Regions from separate parts of the Homo sapiens genome. Here regions 1 and 3 are each linked to region 2. Evidence: promoter capture Hi-C in 16 types of primary human blood cells and fetal thymus (Javierre and others, 2016). All regions are on one chromosome and are shown on one strand. Each heading gives the region's core, a stretch centred on a gene start or on the middle of the fragment in contact. The rest is flanking DNA. Distances are from core to core; before and after follow the strand shown. Region 1 overlaps LINC03006 (long intergenic non-protein coding RNA 3006). Region 2 holds the start of KCTD7 (potassium channel tetramerization domain containing 7). Region 3 overlaps ASL (argininosuccinate lyase).

Region 1 (3,429 bases), core at 392-2,891, 880 kb after region 2:
AACGTGGAGAAACCCCGTCTCTGCGACAAATACAAAATTAGCCGGGCGTGGTGGCGCATGCCTGTAATCCTAGCTACTGAGGAGGCTGAGGCTGGGAATTGCTTGAACCCAGGAGACAGACGTTGCAGTGAGCCGAGATGCCATTGCACCCCAGCCTGGGCAACAAGAGTGAAATCCCATCTCAAAAAAACAAAACAAAAAAAAGTTGTGCATACTTCAGAAATGTAGAGATCTGCCTGTTTCAGCAGCTCTCCAATGATTAGGACATTGGAAGTCGTACCATCACCAGTTATATCATCCTGGGCTGTTGCTACCTTTGCTATTAAGGAAGCTGTTGGGTGTTGAATTTGCTGAAAGTAGAAAAAGAACGAATCACTTAAAACAATATGAAACAGTCTAAAAATACCACAAATAAAATGCATGAAGGGCCTCTTTAAGTACTATCTACTTGAAAAAGCTACCCAAGTGTTTGGCTACAAATTACTAAGATTAAAAAGTCACAATTTGCTATCATGCGCATGCAATTATAATGATGGAAACATTTTCATGTGTAATTTATTTCCCAGGTTATCTCTACTTTACAGATGAGGAAGCTTGAGGCTCAGTGAAAGTTTACGCAAGATGACAGCTAACAGTTAACAGTAACGGATAATTTTACATCCTTGCCTCTTTAGGCAAGTGTAGGGCTCTACGAGAATAAGCCAGGTATCTCCTAAAATGAAAGCTCAGCAGCCTCCACTGTTACTCTGCAATGGCCAAGTAATTTAAAAGGAAAGGTCAGGTGCGTTAGCTCATGCCTGTAATCCCAGCACTTTGGGAGGCCACAGCAGATGGATCCCTTGAACTCAGGAATTCGAAACCAGCCTGGGCTACATGGCAAAATCCTATCTCTTAAAAAAAAAAAAAAGCGGAAAAAAATTGTATTTTAAAGGTAAAATGACATGTCTGCAGCTTACCTTCAAATGATTCAGAGGAAAAATAGAAAAGAAATGGAGCAACATGTAAACAATTGGTGAATCTAGGTAAAGGGCACACACAATATAATCATTATTTTCGTAGGTTTGTAATTTTTTCAAAGAAAACTGAAAAACAGACTTCTGGAGATTGGAGAGAAGTTCCAGTGGGAGGGGACTTCTGAGGTGGTAGCAACAATTTATTTCTTAACTACAATAGTGGTTGTGTGTGTCCACTTTATAATTATTTCCTAAATTGTAAATGTTCTACGTGCTTCTCTCTACTTATGCTGTATTTCTCACACACTAAAACCCAAATAAATTTTTTTTTTTTTTTGGTGACAGTCTCACTCTGTCACCTAGGCTGGAGAGTGCAGTGGCACAATCTTGGCTCACTGAAACCTCAGCCTCCCAGGTTCAAGCAATCGATTCTCCTGCCTCAGCCTCTGGAGTAGCTGGGACTACAGGCGTACAGAACCATGCCTGGCTAATTTTTGTATTTTCAGTAGAGACGGAGTTTCACCATGTTGGCCAGGGCTGATCGTGAACTCCTGGCCTCAAGTGATCCACCTACCTCGGCCTTCCAAAGTGCTGAGATTACAAGAATGAGCCACTGCACCCGGCCCCAAAACAATTCTGACGTCAAGTTTAACCGTGGCTCCACTTTTCTGCTAACACGAGCCACCACTGAACCCAGTAAAAACAAAAACACCTCCTAGATTAGCAAGTCTTTATTAAAGATATTTCATCTGGATGTTGATAGCATGGTATACTACTAGCAAAACCCTGATTATTCTGAACTCAAATCAGCAGGAAATCATTTCCCTTTCTTGGATTTGAACTGTTAAGTTTTGGGAATTTAGGGATGAGTAAAACGCATACTCCCTTCAATAATCTCATATTCTCCATCCCTAAGACTTTAAAAATGTTAAAGCAAAGAGATTTCTCTCCCCTCCAGTTGGAGATGGAGATGAGACATAACAGAGAAATTGCTGTTTTAAAAAGAGAAAAACCGGCCAGATGCTGTGGCTCACGCCTGGTAATCCCAGCACTTTGGGAGGCTGACTCAGGCGGATCACCTGAAGTCATGAGTTCAAGACCGGCCTGGCCAACATGGTGAAATACCATCTCTACAAAAAATACAAAAATTAGCTGGGCATGGTGGAGCAAGCCTGTAATCCCAGCTACTTGGGAGGCTGAGACAGGAGAATCACTTGAACCCAGGAGGCGGAGGTTGCAGTGAACCACTGGACTCCAGGCTGGGCGACAGAGTGAGATTCTGTCTTAAAAAAAAAAAAAAAAAAAACCCATAAAGAGAAAAACCATCCTCATGCATTTTGCCCATGTGATTGTGTCAACCACCCTTAATTTTTCAAATTTTATTATAATTAATGTACAATTACAGTCCTTTAGCCCAGACTGTGAATGGCAAAAAAGCAGGGATTCAAAGACAGGGCTGTCAGACTCCAGGCACAGTCAGTACTATTACTGTCACTGTTACATGTCACTTCTGAATGTTCTCCTACCTTGAGAATGGACATTGCAAATCTTTCTACAAAGCAAAAGTTCTACGGAAAATCAAGACATTTCTGACCTAGCAGAGCACCTCTCACCATTTCGTGAAGCAGCGCACTGTGCAGGACCGTGCCCGGCTAATTTTTGTATTTTTAGTAGAGACTGAGTTTCACCATGTTGGCCAGGGCTGATCGTCAACTCCTGTGTCTTTAGTAAGCTTGATGTCTCCAGCGCCAGAAACAAGACTGTTTAAGGGACAGAAATCAATCAAATTGTGACAAAAACGAAATTAAAACGAAAACTAAATTAAAAAGTCCCATTAGAAAATGGGCTTTTCCAGCCGGGTGCGGTGGCTCACGCCTGTAATCCCAGCACTTTGGGAGGCCGAGGCGGGTGGATCTCGAGGTCAGGATATCGAGACCATCCTGGCTAACACGGTGAAACCCCATCTCTACTAAAAATACAAAATAAATAAATAAATAAATAAATAAAGCAAGCTGGGCGTGGTGACGGGCGCCTGTAGTCCCAGCTACTCGTGAGACTGAGGCAGGAGAAAGACATGAACCCGGGAGGCGGAGCTTGCAGTGAGCCGAGATCGCGCCACTGCACTCTAGCCTGGGTGACAGAGCGAGACTCTGTCTCAAAAAAAAAAACAACAAAAAACCAAAACAAACAACAAAAAAGGACTTTTCCCAGATCTCAGGGAGCCAGGGATATGGAGCTAGTTATCAACGAAAACTAAATTAAAAAGTCCCATTAGAAAACGGGCTTTTCCCCGATCTTAGGGAGCCGAGAATATGGAGCTAGTTATCTCCCGCAGGCTGGAGGACAAGTGTAGTGCCCACCCCGTCCCCGCAGAGATTGTGCAGAGTCCTCAGGGTGTCTGGAAGCCCAAGAAGGCGGGGAACGCCGCACACTAGAGCCGCTTTTTTCTCCATGGAGACGGCATCGACGCAGGAAG
Region 2 (3,063 bases), core at 299-2,798:
TATTTGTAGAGATGGAGTCTGTGTTGCCCAAGCTGGTCCCAGACTCCTGGCCTCAAACCATCCTCCTGCCTTGACCTCCCAAAGTGCTGGGATTACAAGTGTAAGCCACCACACCTGGCATCGTTTCCCTTCTCTTGCTTTTTTTGTTTTTGTTTGTTTGTAGGTACGGTCTTACTCTATCACACCCAGGCTGGAGTACAGTGGCACAATTACAGCTCACTGCAGCCTCAACCTCCAGGGCTCAAGCAATCCTCCCAACTCACCTTCCTGAGCACCTGGGACTACAGGCACACACCACCAAGCCTGGCTAATTTTCATTTTTGTAGAGGCAGGGTCTCACTGTTGCCCTGACTAGTCTCTAACTGCTGGGATCAAGCAATCCTCCCACCTCAGCATCCCAAACTGCTGAGATTACAGATGTGAGCCACCATGCCTGGTATCTTCTCCCGTCTCTTGAGTGTCATTTCAGGTGTTGACATGATAGTATCACACACATTAAGTAAGACCCGTGGAAGCCCCTGTGCACCAGAGCACAGCAGCCTGTGAGTGAAAGCCATGGGATGCCAGGTGACCGTGCCTACATCTATGAACTGGCCTGCCCCTTATGTGCAGACAGCTCCTTGCCTTGTTCCTTAGGTAGCTGGAGACTAGGTGTGGGCAACCACTACAGCATCCTGTTGGATTCTCTAGAAGACATCTTTTTCTTTTCTTTTTTTTATTCATCCAACCCAAAATGCCTTTGTTTTTCCAGTCGTAGTAGGGACGGGGCCTCGCTATGTTGCCCAGGCTGGCCTCCAACTCCTGCCCTCAAGCGATCCTCCCTCCCAATGTGTTGGGATTACAGGCTCGAGCTACGGTGCCTGGTCAGACACACCATCAGCTCTCGGGGCTCCAGGGTCCCCCTCCCACGGCCCACCCTCCCTCCTGTCTTCGGTAAAAGTGGGACATGGCGATGGGAGTAAATCACCCCAGTGACTACTGGGCGGAGGGTGTAGGGGGTGGGGAAGCACACCTAGTGGGTGTAATTGACAGGGGTTGAAGGTGGGTGGGTAGGGGTGCAGGTGGGCGGGGGAGTTGCAGGTGGGCGGGGGAGGGGCGCAAGTCCGCGGGCCCCGCCCCCAACCCCGGCCCCGCCCACCCGCCGAGGACCGCTATGCCCCGCGCCCGCTTCTCCCCCGCGCCCCTCCCCACGCCCCGCGGCCCGCCGCCCGCCCGGGTACCTCCTGTGGCAGCAGGGGCAGCGCGTGCCCCGCCTGCGTGGCCGTCGGCGTGGCCGGCTCCAGAAAGTCGTCTTCGGCGTCAGAGCTGGACATGGCACCGTCCTGACGACGGCTGTCTGGCTCCCGCCCCGTGACTACCACCATCCCTCTGGCTCTGGGCAGTGGGCGCGGCTTCGGGCGGGCGGAGGCGGCGGCCCCGGGCACTCCCTACCGCCGAGCAGCGCCTGGCATGACGCGGCCGGCTGCGGGCTGGCCGGAGGGGGGCGAGAGGCAGTGCGCAGGCGGGAGGGCGGTGGCTCCCTCAACGCCGACCCGCTCGCGCCCAGCTGGGGCCTGACCCGACCGCCTCCCGCTACTGGCCGACGCCGCGCTGGTTCCGCCCTGATTGGCAGGAAGCTCGCCCAGTCGAAGAGCAGGCAGCGCCAGCGGCCGGCGCCTGAGTGGTCCCTGGGTTGGGGGGGGGGGGGGGGGGCGGCCTGCGAGCCTGCCGTGCACTGATTGGTCCTCTGGCCAGCGGGCGCGCCCTCTCCGAGAGACCCGGCGGTGGTGCGCCGCTACGCTCTCATAACTGGGCGTCGGAGTCTGCCGTGAAGAGGGTTCTCACCCGCGTCAGGGTAGACGCCTTATCCCTTCACACAGGGGGTCACGACTTACTCGTGTGTCTGGCCCCAGAGCAGCGGGTCCTTGTCTCCTCAATGGAAGGCCTGAGCAGCCTTTCCTGGAGGATGTGGCGGGAGGAGGGCTGAGGTGGCTGCGGACACGCCACCGCGGCTGGCCCCGCCCCGAGCCGCAGGGCACCGCCCGGGTGTCCAGTTCTTCCTCACTCGCTCGCGCAGAAATCCGAACGAGAAAACCCAAAATAGGAGCGCTTGAGTTCAATGAATAATGACAGTGACTCCCCACCGTGACCGTTTTTCCACCGGGACACACAGATGGAGACAGGCCCTTCCCCAAGATGCTCCCGGCTCCCTGGGAGGCGGAGTCCAGCCCTAGAGGCTCTATCAGCGCAGGGAGTCTCCTGGGGGTCAAGGTTCTTAGCCCGTTCAAGCCATTTTCTCCTTTCTTTAAAAGACAAAGTCTCACTCTGTTACCCAGGCTGAAGTGCAGTGGCGCAATCATAGCTCATTGCAACCCCTGGGCTCAAGCAATCCTCCCGCCCCAGCCTCCCGAGTAGCTGGGACCACAGACGCGCACCACCACACTCAGCTGATTTTTTAAAATTTTGGCCGGGCGCAGTGGCTCACGCCTGTAATCCTGGCTCTTTGGTAAGCGATGCGGGTGGATCACCTGAGGTCAGGAAGTTGAGACCAGCCTGGCCAACATGGTGAAACCTCATCTCTACTAAAAATACAAAATTAGCCAGGCATGGTGGCACACCTGCAATCCCAGCTACTAGGGAGGCTGAGGCAGGAGAATCGCTTGAACCCAGGAGATGGAGATTGCAGTGAGGCGAGATCACGGCCACTATACTCCAACCTGGGCAACAAGAGCGAAACTCCGTCTCAAAAAAGAAAAAAAAATTTTTTTTTTTTTTTTTTTTTAAGAAATGGGGTCTTGTCATGTTGCCCAGGCTGGTCTCAAACTCCTTGCCTCAAGCTGTCCTCCCTCGTCAGCCTCCCAAAGTGCTGGGATCGCAGGCGTGTGCAACCATGCTTCTCCTTTTCAAACCGTTTTCACACCCAGTTCCTCATCTCATTCTCACAGTGTAGTGACAGAAAAGAAAACTGAGTCGTAGATTAGACAGCTCCAGGATGGCAAAGATGAGCTGGTGGCATAGCACTTCCTCTGTTAGACCATCGCACTCCCAGCTGCAGGAGTGTCCTAGGTCTGTGTTTTCTCCAAC
Region 3 (3,250 bases), core at 107-2,606, 550 kb after region 2:
TTTTTCTTTTCTTTTTTTAATTTTTGTAGCTGTGGGACCTCATTATGTTGCCCAGGCTGGTCTCGAACTCCTGGTCTCAAGCAATCCTCCCACCTCAGCCTCCCAAAGTGCTAGGATTATAGGCATGAGCCAGGGTGCCTGGCTCATGTCCTGAGGTCTCACATGCTGTCTGCCAATGGCGAAGTAAACAGAATGGTGCTAATGCTCAAAGTGGCCCTGGGCAAGGTGGAGAGGGGAGGCAAGGAAAGCGGTGGGGCTCCAGGGGTCGTACCTTCAGGCGGCGCTCATTGGCTGTGTGGATGTCCTCATCATTGGAGTTCAGTTTGAAGGTGCCCTGGGCCCACTCCTCAGCCACCTGTAGTGGGTAGCAGCAATGCCGGGGTCAGGTGAGCAGGCATCAGCAGCCAAGAGAGCCCCTGCCTTGGTCCCACCCTATCCCTGGTGACTGACTGTCCCTGCCCAGGAGCTGAGTCCTGGAAGCGCACCCTGGGAGGGGGCATCTCAGGCCCAGCACACCTTTACCCATGAGCCATGTGGGCCACAGGGGTCATTAAAGGATGGAGAGAGGCAGTCATCAAGGCACACAGTTAAACAGCACTTGAGTATATAATTAGTTCAATGTGAAACCACAGATGGGCAACACTGCACTGTTTGCTCAGGGATTTGGTGGGAGCCTGGGGCCACAGGGAAGGGGCCTTGGGTGGGGCTTGGGCCACGGCAAGTACCTTGTCTAGGCCATGGAGTATCTGGTCCATCTCGGCCTTGGTGAGGAGCCCTGCCTTCTCCAGGCCCCTGCTGTAGGCTTTGCTGCCTTGAACATCCACCTCCCAAAGGTGCCGGTCGTAGGCAATGGACGCGTTGAACTTCTCCATGATGGGGTCCACTGCACCCACAAACCGGCCACCCCAAAGCTTCCCACTCTGGCCAGGAGAGCAAGAACAATTAGTCTCTCCTCCACCCTCCAGAACAGTGCTTCTTGCAAAGAGTCTTTGGGAAACTTATCAAGTCTGATGGTAGCAGGGGCATCAGATCATTCTAACTGGGCAGACAAGGAGGCTGAGACCTTCCCAGAGTCACCACCCTGGGAGTGAGCATGGGAACATGGCTGAACACCAAAAGTTTGGGTTCTTTTTTTTTTTTTTTGAGACAGAGTCTCACTTTGTCGGCCAGGCTGGAGTACAGTGGTGCCATCTCAGCTCACTGCAAACTCTGCCTCCCAGGTTCAAGAGATTCTCCTGCCTCAGACTCCCAAGTAGCTGGGATTACAGGCACGTGCCACCACACCCAGCTAATTTTTGTATCATTAGTAGAGATGGGGTTTCACCATGTTGGCCAGGCTGGTCTTGAACTCCTGACCTCAGGTGATCCTCCCATCTTGGCCTCTGAAAGTGCTAGGATTACAGGCATGAGCCACTGTGTGTGGCCTTGAAGTTGGGGTTCTTTCCCACCACATGGCACCCCTCCAAGGAGATGATGGCAGGGCCTGAGACACCCCTGGGACCACAGCAGAACTTCTGGAACCTTTCCCACCACTGACCAAGGTGCTAGGTGCCATCCTAATTGTTGACACAACCCTCTGGGTAGGCACCAATACAATTCCACTATGAAGATGGGGAAACTGAGGCACAGAGCAGCCTGCTCTCACCTGGGGTGGGATAGCCAGGGCTGCGGCCCAGCAGTCTGAAGTCAGAACCTATGCTTTTCACCCCTGTTCCACCAGGGCTTCTGGACTTGGCTCTGGTGTCCAGAACCTTTGCTGCAGGGACAGGCAAAGAGGCCTTGAGGGTCTCCACCAAGCTTAAGTGCCCTGCAACTCTCTCCCTCACAGCTTGGAGCTGGACTAAGATCCCAATTCCTACCACTCCCTTGGCTCTGAAAAGCACCCTGACACCCCCCATTGTCACTGGCCTTCTAGGAGGTCACTGGGTGATCCCTTACTCCCCAGGAGCCAAGGGCAGAGGAATGGTATGTAGGCATCTATGTTTTGTTCGTTTTCTTTGAGATAGAGTCTCACTCTGTTGCCTAGGCTGGAGTGCAGTGGCGTGATCTCGGCTCACTGCAACCTCCACCTCCCGGCTTCAAGCCAATTTTCCTGCCTCAGCCTCCCGAGTAGCTGGAATTTCAGGCGTGTGCCACCACACCTGGCTGAGTTTTATATTTTTAGTAGAGACGGGGTTTCACCATGTTGGTCAGGCTGGTCTCGAACTCCTGATCTCAGGTGATCCCCTGACCTTGGCATCCCGAAGTGCTTGGGATTACAGGCATGAGCCACTGTGCCGAGCCTGTTTTGTTCATTAAAAAAATCTTTTTTAATTCTTTTTTTTTTTTTTTTTTTTTGAGATGGAGTCTCTCTTTGTCACCCAGGCTGGAGTGCAGTGGCAGGATCTTGGCTCACTGCAAGCTCCACCTCCCAGATTCACGCCATTCTCCTGCCTCAGCCTCCTGAGTAGCTGGGACTACAGGTGCCCACCACCATGCCTGGCTAATTTTTTGTATTTTTTTTTTTCAGTAGAGACGTGGTTTCACCTTGTTAGCCAGGATGGTCTTAATCTGACCTCGTGATCTGCCCACCTCGGCCTCCCAAAGTCCTGGGATTACGGGTGTGAGCCACCACACCCGGCCTTTAAATTCTTTTTTAGACACAGGGTCTCACTTTGTTACCCAGGTTGGAGTGCGGTGGCACCATCATAGCTCACTGCAGCCTCAAACTCCTGGTCTCAACCAATCCTCTTGCCTCAGCCTCCCCAATAGTTGGGACTACAAGCATGCGCCACCACACCCAGACATTTTTTTAAAATTTTATAGGACTGGGAGTGGTGGCTCATGCCTGTAATCCCAGCATTTTGGAAGGCTAAGGTGGGTGGATCATGAGGTCAGGAGACAGAGACCATCCTGGTCAACATGGTGAAACCTGGTCTCTACTAAAAATACAAAAATTAGCCAGGCGTGGTGGCACTCGCCTGTAGTTCCAGCTACTTAGGAGGCTGAGGCAGGAGAATCGCTTGAACCCGGGAGGCGGAGGTTGCAGTGAGCCAAGATCACGCCACTGCACTCCAGCCTAGGTGACAGAGCAAAACTCTGTCTCAAAATAAATAAATAAATGAACAAAATAAAATAAAATAAAATAATTGGTAGAGACAGGGTCTCACTATGTTGCCCAGGCTGGTCTTGAATTCCTGGGCTCAAGCTGTCCTCCAGCCTCAGCTTCCCAAAGTGCTGAGATTATAGGCATGAGCCTAGGCGCCAGCCA

What was found. Contacts are between HindIII fragments. The CHiCAGO score rates a contact against its expected background, and 5 or more counts as called.
Region 1: a fragment that was not itself captured here is called in contact with the fragment with the promoter of KCTD7 in region 2 in 2 of 17 cell types (neutrophils and non-activated CD4 T cells); the score reaches 7.4 in neutrophils.
Region 3: a contact is called between a fragment that was not itself captured here and the fragment with the promoter of KCTD7 in region 2, in 1 of 17 cell types (endothelial precursors). The highest score is 5.8, in endothelial precursors.

The regions. Positions count from the first base shown.
Region 1 is chr7:65,751,448-65,754,876 of GRCh38, reverse strand. All of the region lies in intron 2 of LINC03006 (long intergenic non-protein coding RNA 3006), which reads left to right. It also overlaps the pseudogene CCT6P1. Among named protein-coding and RNA genes, the nearest start is that of SNORA22, 2.4 kb to the left of the region's middle. The HindIII fragment of the contact is 2,092 bases long and covers 596-2,687 here.
Region 2 is chr7:66,627,366-66,630,428 of GRCh38, reverse strand. It overlaps KCTD7 (potassium channel tetramerization domain containing 7), which reads right to left and starts at 1,548. Exons shown (of 4, transcript NM_153033.5): 1 at 1,221-1,548. The coding sequence starts at 1,364. RefSeq lists silencers at 1,188-1,757, 2,768-2,967. The HindIII fragment of the contact is 8,113 bases long and covers 1-3,063 here.
Region 3 is chr7:66,079,473-66,082,722 of GRCh38, reverse strand. It overlaps ASL (argininosuccinate lyase), which reads right to left. Exons shown (of 17, transcript NM_000048.4): 3 at 726-920; 4 at 272-355. Among named protein-coding and RNA genes, the nearest start is that of ASL, 5.3 kb to the right of the region's middle. The HindIII fragment of the contact is 886 bases long and covers 914-1,799 here.